Linked DNA regions of Homo sapiens: all the other regions are linked to region 2. The links are contacts of gene promoters, found by promoter capture Hi-C in human tissues and cell types (Jung and others, 2019). All regions are on one chromosome and are shown on one strand. The core of a region is centred on a gene start or on the middle of the fragment in contact, and the rest is flanking DNA. Distances in the headings are between cores, read along the strand shown. Region 1 has its middle 2.9 kb from the start of LINC01449. Region 2 holds the start of INHBA (inhibin subunit beta A). Region 3 overlaps LINC01449 (long intergenic non-protein coding RNA 1449). Region 4 overlaps LOC105375242 (a long non-coding RNA gene). Region 5 overlaps SUGCT (succinyl-CoA:glutarate-CoA transferase).

The links. Contacts are between HindIII fragments. The study calls those that stand out against the background at their distance.
Region 1: a fragment that was not itself captured here is called in contact with the fragment with the promoter of INHBA in region 2 in 1 of the 25 tissues and cell types used here (lymphoblastoid cells).
Region 3: a contact is called between a fragment that was not itself captured here and the fragment with the promoter of INHBA in region 2, in 3 of the 25 tissues and cell types used here (H1 embryonic stem cells, dorsolateral prefrontal cortex and hippocampus).
Region 4: a contact is called between a fragment that was not itself captured here and the fragment with the promoter of INHBA in region 2, in 2 of the 25 tissues and cell types used here (lymphoblastoid cells and mesenchymal stem cells).
Region 5: a contact is called between a fragment that was not itself captured here and the fragment with the promoter of INHBA in region 2, in 2 of the 25 tissues and cell types used here (aorta and mesenchymal stem cells).

What each region holds. Positions count from the first base shown.
Region 1 is chr7:41,096,024-41,101,368 of GRCh38, forward strand. No RefSeq gene overlaps it. Among named protein-coding and RNA genes, the nearest start is that of LINC01449, 2.9 kb to the right of the region's middle. The HindIII fragment of the contact is 4,261 bases long and covers 812-5,072 here.
Region 2 is chr7:41,699,357-41,704,928 of GRCh38, forward strand. INHBA (inhibin subunit beta A) reads right to left here and starts at 3,734. Exons shown (of 3, transcript NM_002192.4): 1 at 3,649-3,734; 2 at 631-1,161. The coding sequence starts at 1,018. The region is part of intron 1 of INHBA-AS1 (INHBA antisense RNA 1); the gene reads left to right. The HindIII fragment of the contact is 9,174 bases long and covers 34-5,572 here.
Region 3 is chr7:41,117,360-41,122,946 of GRCh38, forward strand. LINC01449 (long intergenic non-protein coding RNA 1449) reads left to right here. Exons shown (of 6, transcript NR_110832.1): 4 at 1,608-1,924. The region is part of intron 2 of LOC105375241 (a long non-coding RNA gene); the gene reads right to left. Among named protein-coding and RNA genes, the nearest start is that of LINC01449, 19 kb to the left of the region's middle. The HindIII fragment of the contact is 5,711 bases long and covers 1-5,408 here.
Region 4 is chr7:40,869,089-40,874,204 of GRCh38, forward strand. All of the region lies in intron 1 of LOC105375242 (a long non-coding RNA gene), which reads right to left. It also overlaps a transcript of SUGCT not described here. Among named protein-coding and RNA genes, the nearest start is that of LINC01450, 110 kb to the right of the region's middle. The HindIII fragment of the contact is 4,088 bases long and covers 1-3,491 here.
Region 5 is chr7:40,770,304-40,776,119 of GRCh38, forward strand. The region is part of intron 13 of SUGCT (succinyl-CoA:glutarate-CoA transferase); the gene reads left to right. Among named protein-coding and RNA genes, the nearest start is that of LINC01450, 210 kb to the right of the region's middle. The HindIII fragment of the contact is 3,890 bases long and covers 1,774-5,663 here.

The DNA of each region.
Region 1 (5,345 bases), core at 1,692-4,191, 600 kb before region 2:
AAGGGAGAAAATATGGATAGATAACAGGGGCCAGGCCCAAGCCCTAAGGACTCCATCATTCAAATCAGGTAGAGAGGAAGGAACCCACAAGAGATGAACAAAGTGGTGGGGAGGTGGGAGGGCAACCAGGTAAGTGTGATGCTAAAGAAGCCAGGACCAGTGTTCCACTGTGCGCAACGCTGCTAAGAGGTTAGAGAAGGACGAAGACAGAAAGTGTCAGAGTTTTACTGAATCAAAAAAAGAGATGTTACTTTGATGCAAATTAGGGCCACCTGTGAAGCATGAATAAATTACTGAAAAAATGGTCATAATAAAATATGCAAGGGAAGGAGACATACGGATTTTGATGAACCTTCTAAAAATGGCATCCTACATAGACACTCTTTTGAATTTTGTTCTTTGGAAGAATGATGCCTGGAGTTAGTAGGTACATTTAGGGAGGGATCTTTGCATTTGCAAATGAATATATAGGGCATGCTGTTGCCTTTGGAGAAGGTTAATTTTCTGTCGACTTGTTCTAAATATAGAGAGAAAGGTGATTGCTAGGAGGAATAAAGGCATTTTAAAATGTTTTTTTTTTCTGAATATTTTTGCCCAATAAAGGTTATTTGTAGTAAGGTGGTGAAAGTAAAGAATTAGATCCCTACAGAGGAGAAGATCAGTGATAAAATTCAGCATGATGTGAAAAGAGAAATGGAAACATATCCTGATAACTGGCTGATGAAATTCCATGTGAAGAAATGTCAAATAATGAAGAGTGGGTCAAAGTTCCAGCAAAAGGAACTATATAAAGCCTAGCAGCATGAAGAGGTAGAGAGTTCTGTGGGACTGGGAAAAATAAATTCCAAAGTCTCTGGCACAGATCGAGAGTGAACAGTATAAAGAGTGGGAACCAGAAAGAGTCTGAATGAATGTAAGTGGAAAGAAATGACTGCACGCCCCTATAACGGATTAATGAGGCTACATATAAATTGTGGTTAGCGTTTCTTGTCACACTATGATAAAAAGTGTGTGGGGAAAGCGAGGGATGATGAAGGGGATCTGTGAAGTATTTGGTCAGGTCATGGAAAGTACAGCATCCTCCTGATGGGGTTGGATCAGGGTGGCCTGTAAGTGGAGTGAGCAAGACAGATGACATCATCCACAGTGGATCATTCCTGTGGTCTTCTGGAAATTTCTAGGCAAGGAGGGGGGCAAAGGACCATATAATTATAAAGCCTGAGTGGAGGGCAGGGGTGGTTGGTTTGGATAATGATGGCCTGATCCTTTTAGAACTTCTGTGGCACTTTTTACCTTCCTCCCCATCACCCCACCCCTCTGGGAGTTAGGCAGGTAAAACGTTTTCTTTGTTCCTGTGTTCATCCATGCTATTGTTGCTCAATTCCGTGGCTAAGTTCCTTCAAGACTGGAGAGTCTGCCTTAGTCGTGTTAATGTCCACGCGGTAACAGTTTAGAATCTTACGTGTCGGAAAAAATCAGCAGAGTTTGTAGGTTCATCCTCCGCCAAAATATGAGTGGCTTTTCACCGGCGAAGTTTTTCAACCGCCTGGAAGAAGCCATTTGAGGTTTTTGCTGGGCTGAATGTACATTTTTTGGACACTAAAAAAGCACAAGGTCAGTCTATTTTAGTCGCTACTCAAGATGTAGTCATTATTATGAGACATGTGTTTAAAAACATATTTTCTAACGTTCCTTTTTGAATATGCACTTCAGAGGTGTGTGTCATTGTGGCTAACCAGCATTAGCATGACTGATGATTACTGTTATTGTGTGTATGGATGTCCTTATATGACTGTGGAAAGGAGTCCACAGGCTGCCTGATTAATGCATTTTAAAAGTGATTCCTCCAAAGACAAGAGAGAACTTGTTCATAATTATAAAGAAATTATCTTCTAATACACACACCAGCATTCCTTTTTTTAAGCTCACTTAAAAAAATGCATCTATATGACTGTGTCCTACAGAGTAACCATTTATTATACTTTCCAAGTGCCAGTTACCAGAATTGCTGTTCTGTTCATTATCTCATTTAATACTCAAAAGAATCTCAAGTTGTGTTTCTCAATCAATAGACGAAGATACCAGGGCTCAGAGAGGTTAAGTTCCTCAGGGTCATATTATGAGTTAAGCAAAGACATGGCATACAAATCCAGGTTTTCTGATCCCAAACCACACACTCTTTTTATTTAATTGTACTAATTGTCCTCGTAGCAAGGATTGTGTACTCACTGAATTCAATTCAACAATCTAAATATAATTCAGAATGTGAAAAGCCACGACTAAAACGCAGCCAAAATGTAACGAAAATGCAAGCTTGCTTTGTCTCTCCTTATTCCTTTAAAGTATGTGCAGGGGTAAGGGATTGTTTTCCCACCACCAGGACTTTTTCAATCAAACTTAGGCCACAAACAGCCCTAAAATCACTTGAAATTACAAACCAGTCCATTGTGAAACCAGCACATTCAGATTAAGATAACATCACTTCAATCTTTATTCTAGGGTTACACTCCCTCAGCCCTTCCTCATGTTAGGGCCTATATTGAGCAGCCACTCACCATCTGTGAAGGGGTGTGTTTAGCTCTTTCTCTCTGCTCCTCACGTTTTTATTTGGCCAGTGACTGGTACTGCAGCACACTGGCTCCTACACACCCCGATGCTGGCTCTCAGATGATCCTTGCCGTGCCCATTTGCTTCTGAGAATCCCCTTCCTTGCAAGCATCCTCTCGAGTTAGACCTAAATAGCTCTAGACCTTCTTTTTTTGTGTGATCCATGGGAAAAACTCATATACTCCTTGCCCTGCCATCAATTAGAGATTAATTCCTTCCCAAATGCAATCATCTATTCTCTGTGCCCTGCCAGAGACCACTTTAAATCTTCTCGGGCAAGAATAAGCCTCCAATTCAAGATGGGCCCACATTTCCAGGAACATGCTTCAAGCTCTCCATCTGCTCTATGCTTGAGACAGAGTAGCTAGCAACAGCCCACTCCCACTCCCAGACGCACCCCCCAACAGATCCCCTTAAGTTGAAAGTGACTCACCCACATAGCAGAGAATAGAAATTCTCTTGAAACCTCACAACTCCTTCCCTGCATACTCTGATCTTCCATTTATGGCCTTGATTTGAAGAAGGCTTTGTGGGGTTGGTTCTTCACCATTTTCTCTGTGAATTCTGCGTTTCGATGCAGCCCTTCATTTTGAAATTTAAAATCGTGTTTTGGCACTTAAGTCGAAGTTTTAGTTTTAGCGTATTTTTCTACAAAGGATGTTTATATTTTATTCTAGAATGAGCTACATTAGTAAGAAAAGGCTGCTGACCTGTTAACATTAAAGTAGAATTTAATTTAAAGAAACTACTAATTGTCTTCATGGGATTATTGGCTTTAAGATTTGAAAGATAAATCTTTGTGGCAACTGGATTAAAAAGGGCTTTGAAATTACATTTCATTTAGTCAGTTATTCAAGTCTATAGAATAACTTGTTGAGTCATGTCCAGAATTCACAGATACAACAGGGGTAATTTAATTGAATTGATAAGCTACACTACTGTGCTTTTAGAAGCTGTAGGCAACTTTCTAAAGATAAAACTCCTATGCTTCTATAGTTTTCAAAGAGATTTCATATATAGGCATGGCATGGTAGGATTGCAGAAGGGGACAAAACACAACTTCTGGAATAAGATGCAGAATATTCTTCCTTACTTAAAAAGCAAGTTACAAGTACATTTCTATGAGTCTAAAACTGGAAAACAAGTACACTAGTGTCTTATTGCCTTACATAAATTATAAGTGCATTGAAAGCCTGAACACTTCTTTGGTAAAAAAGTATTCTGTGATGAAACAAGGTGTTTTCTATTTTATCATTGGGGAATGTAGCAAACCTCAATCTCCACAAACAATGAGATGATCTGTTCTTAGGTTTTTGAATAACCGTAGAAATGGGCCTTCCTTGTCTTAAAACTTGAAACTTACATTTGTCCCATCTGAGTTCCTTGTTTAGAACTGAAACCCACTAGATCCCCACATCCAGAGGATGAGATGTCAAACCTTCATTCATCTTGATTGCTTTCTTGCCCCTCCCTAATTCCTGTTTTCCCCACTTTCCACGTTACATAAACCCCTAATGTTAGTTTGCTGGAGAGACGGATTTGAGACTTATCTCCTGTTCTCCCAATTGACGTTACCCAAATATAAAGTCTTCTGCCCTGGTAATACTCTTTGTCCCAGTGATTAGCTTTCTGCTTGGTGAGCAAGAAGACCTGGACCCAATCTCTGGCATTTTGGTAACATTCTTATTTTAAAAATAATTCATTCAATTGTAAGCACATGGGACTAATTTGAAAGAAAACTGGAATCAAGATTTTCTTGCTCATCGCACAGACCCTGAGATTTGATATTTGTGTTGATGTCAATGGAGCCCCATCAGCTTAGACTTGGGAGGTTTGAATGATGCCATCCATCACCAATCCAACCAGCTTAAGGACATTAAGCCCAAATCATCGTAAGTTTGTCGCTAATATATCTGGAGAAAGGGGACAAAGTTAATTTTAGAGAACAGTAGCATTTGTAACATACTCTCTGAAATGTGGACATACATGATATTTATTATGATTTATTTCAAACTATATTTCCCAGAGCACTAGTGTTCTCCATAGGTTACATGGAACTTTCATAGAGGCCCCTAGCCAGCTCCAAGCAAAATATTTCTAATCTTATCCATTTTCTATATTTAGATTTCAAATAAGATTTTTTTGAAAAGGTTATATCAAAAGCCACTTCTCTATTTGCTATGCATGCAGGATTTTGCTGTATGTATACTAGGAAATGAAACTCATAGTCTAATGGGGATAATCTCTGTACGAGTGTTATACAGTTTCTCAATCTGGGGAGGATGAGTGGAGCTCATCATGGGTACCAAGTTTGTAGGTAATAAATCTTAGGAAGTTCTGTGACTCCCTTCCCACCTGATGTGCTGTAGAGTTTCATAGTTGAGGTTATTTCACTGGGGGAGAGACCCATCTGACCCTACTGAGAGGCCATTTTCTGCTTCGGGTACTGGAAAAAGAGGCTAAACATAACAACACCCTTTTGGCTTGAGGATTATTATTTGACTTGTGGAGCTCCCTTTGTTGGCAATTTCTTACTGAGAAGGATCTCCACATACCTCTGGAACTCTTTTAAGATAGGACTATATTTCTCTGTTAGGCTTTTTATGTCATCAATATTTCTCCTGCTCTATGATTCAATGGAGAGATGATAAGAAAGGAATCTCCTGGATTTCCATATATGGGTAAGCTGCATGGAAATTCTGGAAGTCTCTTGATGCCGCTTTCAAGCTCCTGACATA
Region 2 (5,572 bases), core at 2,484-4,983:
CCCCCAAAGTAGCTCTTCCCTGTCTTGAATGTGGTGCCTGTGCACTTATAGACATTTTCTAAAGGTAAAAATGACTGTCACTCATAAATATGCCCTGCTTCTCCAATGTGGCCCCAGATTGGACTTTTAAAGGGGAAGGTTTGTTTTAAGAGAGTGACTTCATCTGTGCCATTCCACTCCAATCCTGGTACATTCACCCCTCTACCCTCAATAAAAACTTGGATGGGGTCCGGAAGCCTCCTCTGCTCCCCTAGCACCCGAAAATGCCGCGGCTTTCCTCCGGCTGCTCAGATCTGGTTTCACAGGCAGGGCAAGGCAGCCCCTCACAGTCTGCCTTCCAGCTCAACATTGGCCCCGAGCTTCCTCTCTGTGTGACCCGCTGGGTTTAGTAAGTGTAAGCCAGTCATCTCCAGGCAGAGCTCGACCGAGAATTCCTTTTCTGTAAAGTCCTCTCCCCCTCCCCTGCCTGCCCTCCGTCGGCTAGTCCGCTACCATCACCTAATAACTAATAACCTTCCCAGGCAGTTTCCAGCTGAAGGGAAAAGAAGTTCCTCCTGGGACTGTCAAAGAAATATATTTTACCCTCCCACCCCCCACCCCTCCCCACCCCCTGCCAATGCCAGCACCAACCTGACTCGGCAAACGTGATGATCTCCGAGGTCTGCTCCATAAGTTCATTCATTTCTGCCCTCCTTCCAATGTCATCCTCTATCTCCACATACCCGTTCTCCCCGACTTTGCCCACATGAAGCTTTCTGATCGCGTTCAGAAGCGCCGCCTTGGGTACCGGCTGGGTGACATCGGGTCTCTTCTTCAAGTGCAGCATGTTTAAAATGTGCTTCTTGACGGCCTCCACCATCTCTGGCTGAGAGTTGGGTACATCCTTTGGGAGGGCGGCCAGCGCACAGGACGGACAGTCGGGGGCCGCGCTGTGCCCCTCGGATCCTGGGGTGGGGGAACTCCTCACTATAATCCAGCAACTTGCCAACAGAAATCCTCTCAGCCAAAGCAAGGGCATCCTGGCAGCAAAAGTTGTTGTGATTGCCTTTTTAAAAGGCCCTGCTTTTCCTCCCCCCTCACGCGCAGGTTTTTTTGTGTGTGTGGATTTTTTTATTTTTTTTTTTGGTGTTTTTTTTTTCCTTCTCCTCTTCAGCAAATTCTCTGGAACAAGAACAAAAAGTTTTCTGTGAAGTTTTGTTTGCAGGTTCCTCTCTGAATGCAGTCAGTGCTGTAGGTTTGTGGCTGTCAGGGAGGAGAGTTCTGACTGTCTCCGAGTAAGAGAGAAGGAAGGAGGGAGGGAGGGAGGGAGACAGGGAGGGAGGGAGAGACAGGGTGGCGGGGAGACAGACAGAGACAGAGAGAGAGGATGGGAGGGAGACAGAGACAGAGAGAGAGGAGAGAGGGGGAGAGAAGAGAGAGGGAAAGAAGGGGGAGAGAGAGGGAGAGAGGGAGGGAAGGGAGGGGGAGAGGGAGAGAGGGAAAGGAAGAGAGAGAGAGAGAGAGAGAGAGAGAGAGAGAGAGAAAGGATTGGCCCTAAGTAAGTGAGTGAATGGAGAGGGAGGGAGTTTGCTGTGAGTAGGGCTGTGATTAGGGAGGGAGGGACAGCCCGTTTTCTGACAGGCTGCTCTCCTTCTGCTCTTAGCTTCCTCACAGACACCTCTCTTCAAATATCACCATTTTCGGGGGTTCTACTTTCTCTTCTAAAATAAATTATCCTAATTTTGTTCACTATTTTTTTTTCTTTCTCTGCCCAGTCTCCTGGTTTCACCTTCTTCCTTTTTTGGAGGGGAGAAAAGAAACCCCAAACAAACACAGTGTCTCAATCAATAGGGATGAATTGATTGAAAAAGTGTTCCCACCGCCCCTCCACCCAGCCAAGCCACAGCCCTAGGTGGTAGAACGCCCACCTGGCCACGTGGTGGGGCAGAGGGTGCAGGGAGGTCCAGTGGACAGGTAGTGGAGGTCAGGGAAGAGGGACTCAGGGGTAACAGAGGATTGTTCTGGCCTGATGGGATCCAGGGGAGATGGTCCTTTCCCCCAATTCATTCATATTTAAATGTTCAGGTCATCAACACTGGCAGGCAATCTGAGGAGAGCGCAATGGAACTTTTGTTTGGGGTCATATAATACACTCCACTCTTCCCAACTGTGAAATGCAGCAGGGCACTGAAGGACCAGAGGGCAGGCAGCCTGTCACAAGCCCAAGTTCCAGAAGCGCTTTCTCCCCGTCGCGTTCAGCTGCCCCCTTCTGCCGGGGACCCACTCACTCTCACACATTACAGCCTACCACCACTCGCCGGACTTCACAGATAAAATGCAAAATTCTCTTGGCCTTTCCCACATCCTTTTATAAAAAGAGTGCACTCGTATGACTTGAATAACTGGTCCTATGGGAAAAGACTCTCTAAAATATATTGGCAAATTATTTTTCTCTGTCATGTGGTAGTTTTTTCAGCTTGCCCCAAGCCTGTCCCGACCAGTGCATTCATAGACAGCCTCCTTGACTGCTTCTTTTTCCCTCAAAGGAACAGTGCAGATGAAATCATCATGGATTTTAGTGTGCACAGAAAAAGAAAAATGTGAATTTTTTAACAATGCCTTTCTAAGGCTTAAAAAAAATTCTTCCCCCTCCCCTCTTTTTCATTTTCTGTCTTATTGCTTTTATCTTGCAGAAGAATCTTTAAGGGGTCCATCTGTTAAAGCGTTCCTTCCCTCTCGGTTTCTTTCCCACACATAAGCCCTCTTGGTTTCTGAAGATACACTCAGCTTATATCTGACACCTAGTGTGTTCATAGCATTACAGTCAAGCAATGCAGTTTAGGTGGAAAGAGTTAATAAATATCATTACTACAAGATAAGATCTGAGTGCAAGGGGAAGAGGGCAAGAAAATTGTGACACTAAGTTATAATTACAGTTTGCACAGGTTAACAATGCTTTCTGAATTATATATACTGTCCCCTTTTCCAAAACAACTATTTGTAAGACTTTTTCTGTTACAAGTAACCTAACACCTTTGGGGTTTCAGCTCCAGAAACATCAATTACTCCACCATTATTGTTAAAACTTTGTCAACATTGCCTAAAAAGCCTCATATTTTTTACGGGGATGGTGAAAGAGAATGGGGGAGGCAGGGGACATTTGTGTTACAATGGTTTTATAAAAAATCTTTGTGCTATAATACTTAACATCATCCACCTATTTGGAGTCACATATACAGTACCCAAAATGTTTTGCAGTTCAATTAAGTTTTACAAGAAAGTCTGAAATACAACCAAAAGTTTAATGGCTCTAAACAACTCAGGAGTCCTAATAGCAGCATTTAGATAAGTGCAACTTATCAATATTTGGATTCTCTCTGCATCTGAGTATGTGTGTGTTCCCTGAATTTACTGTTTGCGAATGTAACTCTTAAAAATAGCTTTCTCTTTGGCATATGTACTTGTATATATGTGCTGAGTGGCTTGTATAAACATATAATCTATTTGCATGCTCTAGGACTATTAAAAGCTGTATTAACCTGCCTGAATAATATAAAAAGGTACACATCACAATGCACATTGGAAATGCCAATTAGTTGTAAAATTCCTCCTAGCTTTCCTATCTTTGAATGTGTAAAGAGCTCAGAAGTAAGAGTTAAAAAGCATTACCTTTCTGGTCCCCACTCTTCCACCAGCCGGCTCTTGTATCATGTGGTAAGAGCTGTCTGAGCTCCTCTTCATGGTATTGGCACTGTGAAGTTTTATACTGTACTACTTATTTGTACACCACACATTGGTACCACTGAAACAGAGGAGGGCTGGGGCTTTGTTTGGGATTGGTTGGAATCAGCATGACATCAGCGGATGACTGGTTTTTCCAGTGTGAGACATTTCATAATTCATTATCTAATGGAAAGCCCTTCCTGGCTTCTGAGACACTACTGGGTGATGCACTGAGCCAGTGAAACCTCTGGCTAGGATTACTCTACCTTTTAGAAAAACATTGGAATCAAATAGATATGTCTCAATGAGTGTGTCCAACTTTCAACTTTTACTACTCGCACACACGTCTCGTTATATTCAGGTTCAGTTTTATGTCTTTACATAAAACATCTGTTACTTCATGAAGTTGCTTCTATTTACAAAGTATTTTATTGTTTCTTTCAGGAAAGAAAATTGGTAGTGTTCTTTATAGGGATTCTAATTTTATATTTTTAAAATAAGCTATTTCATTGAGGAAAAAAATTGGGAAAATCTGTATAATCATATGATGATGGTCTCCCCCGACCCCAACCAACTTACACTATTATTTTACATCTTGAAATTGAATGCCTGCTTCATAAATCAAGAACTTTGGAAATAGTAATTCTCTTTAAATGAACTTCATAAGTATCCTTCCCAGGTCTTTAGAATCTCATTCTAACTAACCAAACACACACACACACACACACACACACAACAACAACAACAACAAAAACCCTCATGCATCATTCTTTTTTACCAGAACTTCAACTCCTATAATTTCTAAATTGTTACAAATATAACAGCAGATTAATGAAAAGAAGTGAACACTCCTTGAAATAGGGGTAAAGCTGGTCAGGCTTTTTTTGTGGGGGAGGGGTGTTGGCAAGTCTGGTAAATAACACAGGAGGAAGGGGTCCTCTGACAAGAACGGTGAAGGGTTGTTTGAAGGACTACAGTTGAAGCATAAGCCCAGTTCTCATGACAAGTTGGATAAAATGTGCAAAATTGGGAGCTAATGAGAGCCATATGACCAGATATGTTGTTTTGTATGCAGGATTTAACATGCATAAAATAAACTTTTCACTGTGCCCACAAGCAAAATATAGAGGCTCTGGCCTCCTGATGTGTGGCTTAAGCAGGTTCCATTAGGACACCAGAAGTTTTCTGTGTAAAAGGGTCTCTCTTGGCTAGATACAGAGAAAGTGTGGGTGCTGAGCTGCATGGGGGTGGGGGGAAGGAGTATTCTAAGAACTGCATATGCAGAAATGAAGTAGGAAAAAAATCATTAGGTTGTAGAGGAAGAGAGTGAATCTGAGTGGCGAAGACAGAAATAGGATTAATGATGGTGAACTCCAAACCTGCCCCTCAGCTTAGCACTGGGTGAACTCAAACCCTTTATAAGAAAGAAACTTCTCCACCCTTTTTGCTGAGAATTAGTGGAGTCAATGACCTTCAGGGCATCTAAACTCACCCCTGACCCACACATGAACCCTAGTGTCCTGAAAACATCCCCTCCGCCTCCACACAAAGTAGTGTGTGTGTGTGTGTGTGTGTGTGTGTGTGTGTGTGTGTGTGTGTAGGTGACGTGGGGTGGGGGTGGGGGGCACAAAACAAACCCAGATCAGATCCCAGTTCCTCTGCTCACTCACCGTGTAAACTCAGGCCTCAGTGTTCCCATCTATAAAATGGGATCCATGATATGAACCTGTGGGGGTCAAGTGCAGCTGTCAGATAATAATAAGTGATACTATTTCTGAGAAGCCTGGTGGCTGTTCTTAAACATGGGTGTCACAGGAATCTGCAGCTCTCTGACCAGAGGAGCCACAACACAAGTGTGACTCTGAAACTC
Region 3 (5,587 bases), core at 1,303-3,802, 580 kb before region 2:
AGTTCATACCTGTTCCAATCACTGATGAATGGTTGTAGGGAAAGGCTAGAGGGTGACACCAATGCCTTTCCAGTTTGGAATAGGTATCTTTTCCCAGTGACCATAAATAGTAGTCAAGGGGAAGGATTTATAAACCAAGAGAAGCTCCCACGTAAACCCCAAAGTTAAAATAGAGGAAGGATTTCCCAGCAGAAGCTTGTATGCTAGTCTAGGCAAGCAAAACAATAGATGTCTAATATCTTACTCTTGCTATAAACTTTGCATTCTTACTCTGCATGCCTACGGTACAATAATAAATCACATCTATGTTTTGTAGAAACAAGCTATAGATCATTGCTAATTAAATGCATGGGTTGTTTTGGTAAGTGACTAGTCCTGCAAATACTGGATTTTGAAATGTCTTCCTTTTCTTTTTATAATGTTGCTATGAAGTCTTTCATAATAGTTTAAATGTGTTAATGAATCAATATATAGTCATAAGCCTCAAACACTAAAGATCTTTCAGTCAGTATTACTGGGGCCAACTCTGACATTCATAGGATGACAAGAATTTATTTTAAAATAAATTAACACCCTTTGGGAGGCCGAGGCTGGTGGATCACGAGGTCAGGAGTTCGAGACCAGTCTGGCCAACATAGTGAAACCCTGTCTTTACTAAAAATACAAAAAATTAGCTGGGTGTGGTGGTGTGGGCCTGTAATCCCAGCTACTTAGGAGGCTGAGGCAGGAGAATCACTTGAACCCCGGAGACGGAGGTTGCAGTGAGCCGAGATCGTGCCGTTGCACTCCAGCCCAGGCGACAATGTGAGACTCATCTCAAAAAAATAAACAAATGATAAATAAATTAATTAACAAATACTAAGCACCGTGTCTTAGGTGCTGGTTTTGGAGTTTTACATTTTATTAGCACCACAATGACCCTGTGAAGTGAGCATGATTGTTCCCTCTTTTCAGAGGAGGAAATTAAGGCTTGGTGAGAGTAAATCACTTACCCAAATTGATGAAATTAGTAGGCAGTCAATGCAGGGGATTATAATGTAGATCTAAAGGATTTAAAGCCACATTTTATGTGCACTACATCAGGTTTTCCTCACTGAGCTCTGTGGAGTGCAGTTTTTGGCAGAGACACCTCAGGGGCCACTACGAGCTCCAGTCAGCTGGACTTGGGCATCTGACTTCACCTTGCCCCCATCTCTGCATCAGAGAGCAGCTCTGCCTTCATACTGTGTTAGTTCAGGGCTTCTTTTGAGGCTGTCTTTAAAATAAACTAAACCATGGTAACTTTATACTAGCAGCATCTCTGCCCTCCACTCACTAGATGCCAGCAGCACTCCCTTCTCTAGTGGCAGCAATAAAAAATGTCGCTTTGGCTGAGTGCAGTAGCTCATGCCTGTAATCCCAGCGATTTGGGAGGCTGGGGCCAGGAGTTTAAGACCACCCTGTGTAACGTGGCCAAGACCCCTATCTCTACAAAAAAAAAGTTTCCAGATGTGGGATTGGTAAATGTCCCCTGGATGGTAAAGTAAAATCGTGCCCCAGTTGAGAACTATTGTTTTTAAAAAATCCATCTCTTTTTTGTCTGTTTTTGTTTTTGTTTTTGTTTATAGAGGAAAAAGGTTTAATCGACTCACAGTTCAGCCTGGCTGGGGAGGCCCCAGGAAACTTACAATTATGGCAAAAGGTGAAGGAGGCCCGAGGAAACTTACAGTTGTGGCAAAAGGTGAAGCAAACATCCTTCTTCACATGGTGGCAGAAAGGAGAAGAATGAGCAAAATGGGGAAGAGCCCCTTATAAAATCATCAGATCTCGTGAGAACTCACTCACTATCATGAGAACAACATGGAGGTAACTGCCCCTGTGATTCAATGACCTCCCACCGGGTCCCTTCCACAACATGTAGGAATTACGGGAACTACAATTCAAGGTGAGATTTGGGTGGGGACACAGCCAAACCATATCACTATCTTTTATGATATTTTATATGCAACTTAGTGTATTGCCTACTTTCATAATTATTTATTTATTTTTAATTTTTAAATTTTTTAAAATTTGTCCATAAGTTATTGGAGTACAGGTGGTATTTGGTTACATGAGTAAGTTCTTTAGTGGTGATTTGTGAGATTTTGATGCACCCATTCCCTGAGCAGTATAAACTGCACCATATTTGTAGTCTTTTATCCCTCGCCCCCTCCCACTCTTCCCCCAAAGTCCCAAAAGTCCATTGTGTCATTCTTATGCCTTTGTGTCCTCATAGTGCACCTCCCACATATCAGTGAGGACATACGATGTTTGGTTTTCCATTCCTGAGTTACTTCACTTAGAATATTAGTCTCTAATCTCATCCAGGTCACTGAAAATGCTGTTAATTTATTCCTTTTTATGGCTGTGTAGTATTCCATTGTATATGTGTACTAAAGTTTCTTTATTCACTTGTTGATTGATGGGCATTTTGGTTGGTTCCACGATTTTGCAATTGTGAATTGTGGTAAATATGCGTGTGCAAGTATCTTTTTTGAAGAATGACTTCTTTTCCTCTGGGTAGATACCCAGTAGTGGGATTGTTGGATCAAATAGTAGTTCTACTTTTAGTTCTTTAAGGAATCTCCACACTGTTTTCCATAGTGGCTGTACTAGTTTACATTCCCACCAGCACTGTAAAAGTGTTCCCTGTTCACCACGTCCACACAAACATCTACTTTTTTTTGATATTTTGATTATGGTCAATCTTGCAGGAGTAAGGTGGCATTGTATTGTGGTTTTGATTTACATTTCCCTGATCATTAGTGATGTTGAGTATTTTTTCATATATTTGTTGGCCATTTGTATATCTTCTTTTGAGAATTGTCTATTCATGTCCTTAGCCCACTTTTGGTTGGGATTGTTTGTTCTTTTCTTACTGATTTCTTTGAGTTCATTGTAGATTCTGGATATTAGTATTTTGTCAGATGTATAGATTGTGAAGATTTTCTCCCACTCTGTGTGTTGTCTGTTTACCCTGCTGACTGTTCCCTTTGCCATGCAAAAGTTCTTTAGTTTAATTAGGTCCCAGCTATTTATCCTTGTTTTTATTGCATTTGCTTTTTGGTTCTTGGTCATGAAATCCTTGCCTAAGCCAATGTCTAGAAGGGTTTTTCCAATGTTAACTTCTAGAATTTTTATAGTTTCACATCTTAGGTTTAAGTCTTTAATCTGCCTTGAGTTCAAGTTTGTATAAGGAGAGAGCTGAGGATCCAGTTTCATTCTCCTACATGTGGCCAGCCAGTTATGTTTTTTTTTTTTTTTTCTTTTGAGATGGAGTCTGGCTCTGTCACCCAGGCTGGAGTGTAGTGGTGCGATCTCGGCCCACTGCAACCTCCGCATCCCGGGTTCAAGTGATTCTCCCACCTCAGCCTCCAGAGTAGCCAGGATTACAGCCACACGTCACCACGCCCAGCTAATTTTTTGTATTTTTTTGTAGAGATGGGGTTTCACCATGTTGGCCAGGCTGGTCTCGAACTCCTGATCTCAAGTGATCCACCTGCCTCAGCCTCCCAAAGTGCTGGGATTACGGGCGTGAGCCACTGTGCCCAGTTCTCTTCTAATACAAAGATACTCTTAATGGATTTTAATGATTTTTTTAAAAAATGGGTTTTAAAAAAATGGAACCAGGGCATCATAATGTGTTATATTTATAAACACCTGAGTTCAAAATGATATTGAACTGTTGTTTTTATTGAAATCTTTACCCAGGTCATCACATTTTGAAAGCTTTAAAATGCTACAGCCAAACGCTGAACGATTATCTTAAGTATTAAGAAATTTGCTTCTAATTTGTGGCTTTTGATGTTGTTCTTCATTAATACTCAGGCTTGTTGAGAGAAGCAGAGCATCTTAGCACCAGAAGGAATGTCAAGAGGTTATTGGCTGCACCACTATGCCTACCTGCAAATCAACATCTGGACCATTCCTAGATCAGTGTTTAAGAGCAGGGAATCATGGGCACTGGCTGTATCTAATTATTGCCAGATAATATCACCTAAAATGAAAGTTCCTTAATGTTTGCCTGACACATCATTGGCAATCTCATTCAGCAAGCTACTTCATTTATTTAGCTTGGCATAATTCTCAAGCACACACAAGAATTATCTCCTGATCAAAGCTAGGCATCATATGGGCTTTATTGAGGCTGTTTTATGGTTAAGCTGGGAAACCCTTTCACTCACCTGTAAAATTTGTAAGACAAATTATTTTGATCATACAAATTGAAGAAAATTGGACCTCAATGGCTCATTTTTATGTTTTAGAGAGCTTTCAAAAATTATTTTATAAGGGTAATTTTTATTCTGCCTATAAGTTCTCTTTGTCTGACTTCCCAGTTAGGGTATGATGATCTTTTATTTAGTTATGTGTCATTGATAGGTGACTCAGTTTTTCTTTGGGAGATGCCATTCTCACCCATCTCCTCCGTAACTAGCAACAGGATGGCATATTAAGGGATTTGCTTCTGATTCCACTGGAAACACAAATTATCTGTGTATTAGCAAAGCAACACGTATAAAGGATTTCCTAAGGATAGTTAGTCTATTTCCCTAGAGATCCTTAAATTGTGAGGCCCAAGGGTTTTAAAAGGGTTATGAACACCAAAAATAAAAAATGTATGCAAAAATGTGTGTTAAATTTAGGGAGGTAAGGAAGCTGGAGAGATTTTCAGATATCTTAGTCCAAAAATATTGCCCTTTTAAACAAAGTCAGGGGAACTGAGAATTATATAATCTGTAGCAGTCTCCTCTGTAGAATTGGTTTGACTGATTGTGCTTTGTTGATATGTCATAAATCCTGAAGGCATGCCTTAGGATACTAACAGCTGTTTCTCCCATAGAGATGTTTGTGGAGAGTGTTTTCTGTTGCATTATGCAGTTTATTCTTCATGAGTAAACCTTGGGGAAAAAAATTCTCTTTTAGTGTAAGTGTGAAGAATAGCTATGCATCCACTGACCAATTATTTGGTGTTTATATTATGGGCAAAAGAAATTGTGTGACTACCCACATTTCTCTCCTCATCTTGGCTGTGGGAAAGCCTAATGCTCAATTTGTGGCCCAGTTTTAGCAACTGTACAGGACTCCTTGGTATGCTTGATTGGATCAGACACATTCTTGGTTCCATTTTCTGTCCCTGGGGCTGTTTTTCTTTATTCTTTTTTTCCTCAAAATCCTAATATTTATATTACTGTGCTGTTTATAACTGTTTATGAGATCCAAACCTGTTTTGAAACAGGATAGATTGTAAATACACTCTTTTTAAATAGTAACAAATAACTAAAATGAAAAAGAACAAAGCCAAATGATTAATGGCATTCTGTGGCTGGGGAAGATGCTGATGATAAAAAGGACGTTCACATACGAATAGGAATTCTTCCAATAGAGAAAGTAGAAGAGGAAGCATTGCTGCAGGAGGATTGCAGCAACAATGGCATTAGATAAGCCTGAGGAGTTCAAAAGGAGAGCAGCAGCCCTTGTTTGCATGGATTGAGACTGGAGAGAGTAGGAGGAACATCATGGTTTGCAAGCTAAATTAGACTCAGGTTGTGAAATGCCTCGTTTACTGTGC
Region 4 (5,116 bases), core at 198-2,697, 830 kb before region 2:
TCTAAGATGGTCCCCAAGATTCCCAGCCACACACACTGTCTCTCAGTTATCCAATCAAACACTAAGTAAGTGCTTCTATGGAAGGAATTTGTAGATGTAATGAAGGTCCAAAATCAGTTGATCTTAGTATAGAGAGACTCTCTAGGTGGGACTGAACTAATCACATGAGTCCTTTAAACCTGGGTCTAGAGGTCAAACTCATTAGGCTTCAGATTTGAAGCACAAAGGGGATTTGACATGTGGAAGTAGTCACATGGCAAGGAATGCAGGTGGCCTCTAGGAGGTGAGAGAAAACCCAAGTGACAGCCAGCAACAAAACAGGGACCTCAGTCCTACAACCACAAGGAGCTGAATTCTGCCAACAACCTGAATCAGTTTGGAAGTGGATCCATTTCCAGAGCTTCAGAAAAGAACTCAGCCAAGCCAGCTTGATTTCAGTCTTGTGATACCCTGAGTAGAGATATACCATGCTTGAATTCTGACTTAAGGAGCTGAAAGCTTATAAATGGCTGTTGTTTTAAGCCTCTAAGCTAGGAGTAATTTGCTATGCAGTGACAGAAAATGAATATACCCACGAATGTCATTTTTTTTTTCTCATCCAGGATCAATTCCAGGATTCCACATCACATTTAGTTGTCATTTTTTCTTAGTCTCCTCCAATCTGGGTCAGTCTCCAATCTTTCTTTGTTTAATTACCTTCAGTGTATTGTGCAGTTATTTTGTAGAATGTCCATTAATTTGGTTTTGTGTGAAATGCTTCATTATTAGATCAGGATTATGCATTTTTGGCAAGAAATTTCAGAGGTGATTTTGGATCTTTGCAGTATATCGTAACAGGATGTACATGATGTTGATATTGTATTACTGGTCATTTTAACTTTGATCCTTTAGTTAAGGCGGCATCTTACAAGTTCCCCTTAAAAGTCCTGGGTTTGCTTTTGTTTGTTTCTGTAATCAGTAAGTATATTTTGGGGAAATATTCTGAGACTGTACTAGTTCACTTCAGCAACTGTAACAAATTACCACACTCATGATCATGTAAAACAATAGAACTTAATTCTCTCAAAATTCTAGAGGCCAGAAGTCTTTGGATTTCATTCTGATCAATGTCATTGAACTGAAAGAAAAGTGTTACATGGCTGTGCTCTCTGTGGGGGCTTTAGAAATGAATTCCCTTCCTCACATAGTCCAGCATCTCAAGCTGCATTCCTTTCATTCCTTGGCCAATGGTCATTTCTTCACCTTCACAGACAGTGGTGTAACATCTTCTCTCTCTCAGTCTGCTTTCTTCCTCCTCCTTTACATGATCTTCTGTGTGCCATCAAATCTCCTTCTGCCTGTCTCTTGTAAGCAAACTTGTGGCTCTATTCAGGGCCCACCCACACAGTCCAAAATAACTCCTCCATCTCAAGATCTTTCATTTAATCACATCCATAAAGTCTTTCCCATGTAAGATAACATTTACAGATTTCAGGGATTAGATAGAATGCATTATCTTTTGAGGAGGCATTTTCTAGGATACCATAGAAAATATGCAAATATTCTGTTTTTCATTATAGTTTTGCCCACGAATTTTAGCATCTGTCTGTGATTCTTGCCTTAAACAATTATTTGGTATTCTACTTCTATTTTTCCTGTTTTTAGATTTATTAACTGTAATTCTATTGTAAGAGTTGCCCGTTCTCCATTTGTTTACTTATTCAATTATTTATTTATATCAATATGGACTAGTTGATATTTGTTTTATTTTGTGGGTTATCATTTATTGTACTCATTGTTTTTTTGCTTAAATTGTCACAGATCTGGCCACTGAGAGCCTCTTCAGCATGAATTGAATGTCCTTTCAACACGCTCCTACCTTTTTAAGAACACTTTCTTACTTTCTGTCAATACAAGATGTTCAGGATCATGTTGTATTTTTCCTACAATAGCCCTGGAATTAATCATTTCTCCAAAAAGCCCTTGTTCCTTTTACTAGAAAATGGTATTTAGAAACCAAGATCTGAATACTAGACGTGCTAATTGTTACTGGAATATCATTATGACTAGGTCCCCTTTGCAGACGAGGGAGGAAATACATGCATACACACACACCCAGCCACACATTTATATTTGTTTCTATATGTATCCTTGCACATATTTTTAAAACCACGTGCCATTTCTAAGCTAAGTCTTTAAGAGGTATGGCATCTTCCTTTTATGCTCTTGGAAATCAACTAGCATGCTACATGTCTGAACATCATCCTCTGAAGAAGCCCAAGCTAGCTATGTGGAGAGAGAGGGGGGCCATTTGGAGGAGCACCAGTATACCAGACATGTGAGTGAAGCTTTCTTGGATATCCAGCTTATCTTAGCAACCAAGGGAATACAACTGAATGAGTGACCCCAGCCAGTGCCACATGGAGCAGAAGAACCTGCCCATCTGAACCTTGACCAAATTTCTGACCCACATACATTGATATTGTTTTAATCCACTAAATTTTAGATAGTTTGTTATACAGTAATACATAATGAATTGTAAACTCAGAGAGGAGTTTAACTACCTGAGTGGTTTCTGCAGTAGGTCACCTTTATAGTCCCCCCGCCCCCACCCCGCCAGTGAGCCTCACCCTCTGGTATTCACGTCTTTCAGTGATCTCCACTCTTTGTCAAACCTTGTCTGGAGGAGGCATTATGAAAGGGCAGTGTTGTTTGCTGTATGTTAACCTCTTCGGGGGAGCTCAGGATATAAATTACAGCAGTAGTGGTAGAGTAGGCGGTAAAGGATATGGAACACAAATATTAATGAGAAACTTTTGCAAGGACCTCCCAGAATAACCTCCACGTTCTAGACCAGTGGTTCTCTGGGAGGAGGGTGGCAATTTTTTCCCTCATGGGAAATTTGGCAATGTCTGGAGACATTTTTGGTTCTCATAACTGGGGACAGCATGGAGGGGAGTGTGGGGGGAGAAGGATTGCTACTGGCATCCAGGGAGTAGAAGCTGGGGATAGTGGGTACTGATAAACATCCAGCAATGCACAGCACAGCCCCACAGCAAAAACTCAGCCTAAAATGTCAGTAACGCTGCTGCAGAGAAACACTAATCTAGAGGAAGCTAATCCTTCAGGTGGGAGAGCGGGTGCCTGACCGTCCCATCTATTCATCTTTTTTTTACATTATTTAAGTTTAAGGCAGGATACAGGTGGGCTCATTGCGGTATAATTGATCCACAGATAAAACTTACCATAGTGGTTTTTTGATGAAAAATTCTTGTTCTGACTTCTTGTGAAATTCTTATTTTGGCTTCTTGCAATGAATATGTTTCTAACGTGGAGGAAGCAAAACATTCTATCTAAAGAAGATTCCTCATTAATTGTTCTTCAAATTTGCAGTTACATTAGGGACACAAGTCAAATTACAGGGAAGATCTTAGTTCTTAATATAATTAGAGAACTATAAGTTGTCCAAGCGACACTGACCAGGCCGCATCCCCCTCTGGGCCACAGTTTACTCTGATGAGTCAGGGGCTCTGAGGACATAATTTCTAAGATCCATATTTTGAGTTCTGCCATTCTTATTTCTTTCATACTGTGGATACACAGAGAATGGAATAAGTGTAGAGAAAATAGATGGACAGTTTTGAACAGTGAAGTTTAAAGGAGAAAGAAACTTTAAATGAGGAATTAACTGTACCCCTTTTGGGTATCTGCTAACCCAGAACTGTAGGGAAGTAGAGTGTTTACAAAGTTAAGAAATATCAAGTGAGAGAATTCATACCTTCCTTGGCACACCTTCCTAACTCTTTGATGTACACACTCTTCAGATGTCTGCTCTGGAGAAGAACTGAGGTGGATTAAGGCTAAAGTGTTGAGCATGAGAGGCGTCTGAGGTCAGGGCTTGCTGACTGGGTCACAGCTGTGCAGCCTCAGCGGAACCCGGCTGATCCCTTGATCAGAACATAACAGTAACGTACCCTACCCCACTGAAAACCTGCGGATCTAGAAGTCATAGGGTCTTCTCTACAATATGGAGCTTTCAAGAGGTACTTAAGGACATGAAAAAGAGGATAAATACATGTGCAAAATATTAATCAACATTTGCAATTCTGTCCAATTGTTCTAACAAGGTTAAAATGAGGACCAAAAAACTTACCAATGAGCTTCCCATTGGAAAAAATTACTTTGCCAAAGGAAATGGTATTTTAAAGAATTGAATGGAAAAAAATATTTAAAGGTCATATGATAGAATTTGAGCCTACAGGATGACTTTTTCTTGGCCCTAATTGTTGACTCTATAGACCTCAGCAAGTTACACCTAGAAGATACGCAATGGGAAGGGCATCTGGCAACCAGACTTCTGCACTGGTTTGTTGATTTTATTGCATTATCAGAATGTGGCCAGGCTCCCGGGCCCACCCATTCCATGTCCACATTCTTTTCCATGTCCACAGCCACCATTTTAACCTACGCCCTTCTTGCTTCCTCCTTCTCACACTTCAGTCATTCCTGCCCTTTCTTCCAAATCCAATTTTAAAAGTCAGTGGTCTAGTAAACCTTTAAAAAATTAATTCCAGTTTATTCTGGTTATAACTGATTACTCCTTTACTCAGCTCAATACTTATGCCTGACTTTATATTGCCATCAAGAGCATTGTTGAAGATTTTGTGTTTGTTAAGCTTTGGATATACAGAGAGGATTAGGACAGGTACTCAACATCAAGGAACTTAAAACCAAGGTTGGGAGGTAAGACACATAAAGTTGATGCATAATAACTCATCCTATTACCTAAGAAATGCCAGTGTTGTTGGAGTTCAGAGATGGGAATGACTCTGTAACCTGCTGTGCTTAGGAAAATAATTTTGTAGGAAATGAGCCTTCATCTTCAAAGGAAAACAAGACTCATATCAGCAGAGGCACTAAGAGTGTTACATGCAGAGGTGAGCAGGCCGTGTAGACAGGAACACCAACCACTGGCATATTTGGAAATAGAAATCTTAAGTAAACAAATTTAGTTAAAGGAGCCATGTGGGTAGTGAAAGAGGGCCATTACATGGCAATAGATTGGAAGACTGGGAAGAAGCAGATTTCAGATGATAGCTGGGGACCTTGAAAGTCAAGAGGGTAATTTTTCTGTAGA
Region 5 (5,816 bases), core at 2,469-4,968, 930 kb before region 2:
TCTCCCATGATAGTCTGGAGGCGGGCAGTTCAGCGCTGGTATGACATCTCTGCCCTGGGATGTCTTCAGGAAATCAGGCTCCTTTTAGCTCATTGCTCCACCTTCCCTGGAAGGTGGTCCTTGTCTTTGCAGTACAAGATGGCATTTCGAGCTTGGGTCATCATATCTATGTTCCAGACAGAGGGTTAGAGGAAAGCACAAAGAGGAAAAAGGAACAAAGAGCATACCCCAACTATTTCGGGAGAAGGTTCCTGGAAGCTGTCAAATTATACCTATACTCACATATATTAACAAGTACTTAGTCACCTGCACAGGGGCTGGGAAATGTAGTTTTTATCCTGGTGATGAAGAGTGGCATCTTCCCTACTGGAAAACAGATGCCCTATTTCTATGGAAGAAGAGAAGGGATATTAATGGACAACAAACCATATCTGTCACATCATCATTTAACTCAGTTTATATAATTCCTGCTCTAGGAAGACTTTTTCCTAATCCCCAATGCACTGGTGTCCCTCCTGTATGCTCCCCACATCCTGTGAATACCTTCACTCACTGTGTCAAATGCCTTTATAACCTTGGAGACAAATTGCTCACTGGACTATGAGCAATTTGAGGCAGGAGCTCTGTGATCACTTTATGGCCTAGCACAGTAGCTATTAAAATGTATTTATAGTGAATGAATGAACTAATTAACCCTGAAAAATTTCCAGATGCCAATGTCTCTAAAATTTTGAAATATGAGCAGATAATTTAATTTCATGTATACAATATTTTATGCTTTTAAAAGTTTTCTAGAAATTCCCAGGAAGTTAAGATTGTATATCCAAAAGTATAACAAATGTAGCTGTGTGTGTATGTTTTGTTTCAAAAGTTATAATTCTACACATAGCAAAACATACTTAGATTTCCCCCCCAACACTCACCCACATCTTTCTCTATAAATACAGTTTAGAAAGGTGTAGTTTAATCTATTAAAATGCAGCAGATTGTGTGTGGATCACAATCTGTATCGATGTAACCAAATTATATCAGTAACTATAACACTATAGTTATCAAGTAGACTGATAGTCAAATTGAATTATAAAGTCTATCAAGTAACACAATATACAATTTATTTTCTAGCATTTTTTTTCTAATGTGCCCCTTTCCTGTAATGTATCTTAACAATGCCATGAGGTTGTCAGTGCTGGAAAGGTAAATACTGTGGTTCAGAGCAATCCAGGATCGTATAGCACTAAGTTCAAGTGACTGATTTTATCCTTGTAAGATTAATTCAAGATTCGATGGGGGAATAAAAGTGTAATTATTATTCATATTATTTTTCAATATGTAGGTCTTCCATTTTTCTTACGGATACTATTTTGATTGTTAACAGATATTTATCATCTACTGAAGAAGTGAAATAAATGAGACTTGAAAGGAAATATAATTTTAAAAGACATTCTGGCTCTTAAAAACATGTAATCTAATAGGAAAGAGAGATTATATTGGAAATTGTAATGTATTACAGTAGCTATTCACTGAGACTAACTGAATGAATGAGCACATAAATTGGGGAAGTTATTTCTTCAGGGTATTCGATGGAATACTTTTGTGAATTACTCCTTTATATTTTCCCACTGTCCTCTACCTCAAGAATTGTTAGAGGATAGTTAATTAGCATAGTATTTTTCATCTTGCTCCTTAAAACTAGGGTGACCATATGTTCCATTTGCCTAGAACTGTCTTGGTGTATGCCTGTTGTCCAAGCATAATTATTAATAGTGCCCCCTCAAGCTCCCTGAAGGAGTAAGCCAGCTTGCAGCCTGCTCCTCCATCCTCAGCAGGATGAACTTTCCCTTCCTCCTCCCTTCTTCTTCACTTTCCACACCAAAAGTCTGTAGGAGTAGGGGAGAGAGTAACATTCTCATTGAAAGCTCAGTTTCTGGCTTTGGTTCCCATATTCCTGTTACCACCTGCTGAATATCAGCCCATACGTAAGTCTTGCAGATTGTTTCAAGTTCCTGTGGTTACAGATAAAAGCCTTTATTCTTTGGAGGAGAACATGCTTCTGGTTAAAAAAAAATAAAAAGACAGAGTTCCATGTTTGAGCTCACAAGCAATTCTTTAAATAACTATGAGATTTTCCAGCATTCATCGTGATAGACGCTAGATCTCCAGAGCATATCCTTATGTGTCAATTCTTTTGAAATATCTATCTATCTATCTATCTATCTATCTATCTATCTATCTATCTATCTATCTATCTATCTATCTATCTGGTGTTATCTATCTGCTATCTATCTATCTATCTATCTATCTATCTATCTATCTATCTATCTATCTATCTCTATCATTTACTTTTGAGACAGGGTCTCACTCTGTTGCCCAGGCTGGAGTGCAGCAGTGCAATCATGGCTCACTGCAGCCGCAACCTCCCTGGGCTCAAGGGATCCTCCCACCTCAGCCCCCTTAGTATCTGGGACTACAGGTGTACACCACCACAACCAGCTGATTTTTTCAGTAGAGGCAGAGTTTCACCATGTAGCCCAGGCTGGTCTCGAACTCCTGGGCTCAAGCAATCTGCCCGCCACGGCCTCCCACAGTGCTGAGATTACAGGTGTAAGCCACTGCACCAGCTTGAAATATTTTGTATTCCATGAAATTCTTTATAAAATTACTTTATAAAACAACTTCCTCACTTTCTTAACTAATGTAGATTGAATAAAATGAAAACTTTTGTTTTTATAATCATTATGAATATTAATTTTTTATAGTAAGTGATTCCTTATGGACTACAGGGGCACATGGAATCATTTGACCTTTTTATTAATAATTTTTGAATTAGTATCTTTCTTTTTTTGAGATGGAGTTTTGCTCTTGTCACCCAGGCTGGAGTGCAATGGTGTGATCTCGGCTCACTGCAACTTCCACCTCCTGGGTTCAAGCGATTCTCCTGCCTCAGCCTCCCAAGTAGCTGGGATTACAGGCACCTGCCACCACGCCCACGTAATTTTTGTATGTTTAGTAGAGAAGGGGTTTCACCATGTTGGCCAGGCTGGTCTCAAACTCCTTACCTTAGGTGACCAGCCCACCTTGGCCTCCCAAAATGCTGTGATTACAGGCGTGAGCCACTGTGCCCGGCCGTATCTTTTTATATCATATTATTTTGAGTGTATTGCCTCTATTAGTCTGTCTTTCTCACATACGATTTGTTTCCTCTAATCTGCTCTAGGCTCAAAAACAACATCAGCATAGTGATGGGAATTGTGAATAAAATCAATGTACATTTGCTTCAAATGATGAGCAGCTCTCCGATGGGAAAATCTATGTGATTTGATGACATCACTTTGCCTGCAGAGATACTTTTTTTGCTTGCTTTTTGTCTGAGTTCCAAGTAGTTGAGTTTGTAGAATAGTTGACCTCTAGATAAGTAAAGTGTTTTTGTCATTCCGTTTGAAAATTAGTGTGGAAAATTAAGGTGTGCACCCCCATGGAGAAAGTTGAGGTCAAGCAATTCATTCCCGAAGCTGTGCAGTCATAAAGATTCACATGCCGAGCTCAGAACTAGTATTAACCAATCAAATTGCTCCCAGAGGGGTGCTCACTTCCTAGGTTAACTCTTAAAACACTCCACATAGCCATTTTAGGCTTCTAAATACTTGTTGAATGGACAGAGAAACAGGAAATCAGAGTGGAAATGGATGCTATAAATCTATTTTCTACAGAAATGTGTTATGAGGGCAAATACACTACATCAAATTTTAGAATCTCACAATACTTCCGAATTCAACCCAAAGCTTTCCTTTGTTACATTTTTTTCTTTCCCTAATTTAAGATTCACCAAGATTGTGTAAAGCTTATGATTATTTCCAAGTTTTGGAAATCAGCCTTCTTTCCCTTTTAGAAGAGATTGAATAGCCATCCCTCTGAAAGTCACAGGGAAGATAGGAAATTCTATTAAATAGATTTAATGTATCTCATGAAAGCCCAGAAGTTATTCTTGCCAAAAGAATGCCTTCAGAAGCAGCAGGCAAAATGAAAACTGAAATATTTGCTGTAATTTACATAAATGCTCTCTTTTATGTAATTACTGCAAATAAGTATAATGAGATAAATGTGTCTGTTGCTTTCTCTTTAGAATAGATGTTATTAATTAATCTTGAAAAGTTCCCAGTGTCCCATGAAATTGATCTATAATGTTCTCATTACTCATTGTGGAGATGGGAGATTGCTGATTGTGTTAATTTTTGCTACATTTTGATTTTTAGATGCTCAAGTAGAATCTGTAGGCCAAAAACACTGTCTTGCCGAAATGCAGTTATAATTTCCTAACAGAGTTATTTCTGTTGTTGATACTTGTCTACAGATTATAAAGCCTTGCAAAGACTTACAGATTTTGATTATATGTTGGCTTTTTCCATAAGTTTCATATTTTCAATTTACCCCAAATACTGTAACTGTGAAATATAACGACTAAGGCATTTTGGCAAATAAAAAAAAAAAAAAACCCACAAATTTGGTGTGAACATCAAGAAATAATGGGTCTTGAGTTTTCATGGCCATGTGTACTGTCCCATTAGTAACATTTAGTTGGTAATAAAAAGATAAAAAAGTTAAATAAAATTATTCACATCTTTTTAATTGTGAAACAACAGTGACCAAAAAAACCTCTAAATGAGACTGCAATTCTTGTTATTGGAAAATATATGTATTTCACAGTAGCAATCTATACTTATTTTTGGAACTGCTTACCATGCTATGGAATTTCAACTGTGGTGTTATTGGGGTTTCTACACAGAAGAGATGCCACATAACAAATGCAAAAGCTTTTATTTGAGAGTCATTCAGAGTTGCTTGAACATCTCTGAAGGTTTTGAAAGATAAATGTGCTTTACCATCTGTAAACACTAATGTGGCTTACATCAGAAGGAGGTGGCCTGAAGGGCCCATGCACACTAATGAGCTGTGCCCAAAATGAGTGTGATATCCTTTTTCCAATTACGTACCCTGACTTACAAGTAAATATATTTTCCTTCTGCTCTCAACCACTAGCTTATACATACACAAGGTCTTTGGCAGGACATAGAGTCCCAGTTTCTCTACTGGAAAGGCAAATACCTACAAGCATTCTCAGTTAACAATGCTAAGAGGTATATCTGCAAACTAATAATTAATATGCATTGAGTGCTAACTCTGTCAGATAAGATGCCTAACATACACTGTTTTAGAAACATTATTTCATCTTGGCAGGTTGATACTATTTTCTGTGTTTTACAGATTAGAAAATTAAGGTTCAGGTCAATTAAAGATGTGGAGCTTTGCTTCTCCATGGGAGAAAATTTGGCCTAGTTTTAGATGGACATACCTTATGCCTTTTAGAGCACAAACCCAAGATACTAAACTGTCTCTGGATTTAAGTGTAAGGTGAGTGGATTATTTCTGCATCTTATCTCCTTCCGTGGAAGTATATGTAAGTCAATATAGGTGCAATCTTTGAAATTCCTATTAAGCAGCAGCAACATAAAATCACGTCAGCCTAGGGTGTGAGAAGGAGGAGCTCCATATAGGTTTTGAACACAGATAAGGCTTTCAGAATGGTTCTGCCTCTGGAATTGTTACTTTAGTTCTTTTCCTTTTTCCAAAGTTTGTGTTCTAAAGAATCTATTCTGTTAAGACATATTATCTTTCAATGTCAGATGACCTCCTGGCCACTCACCTGAGCCCTTCCCCATTGTGCCTGCCACTTTTATACACCTTGGCCAAGTTCCTGCTGAGCCATATTGCAGTTTGCAGTGAGGTGCCCAGCGGTTGTCCCCATCCTGCCGCTGTGAAAG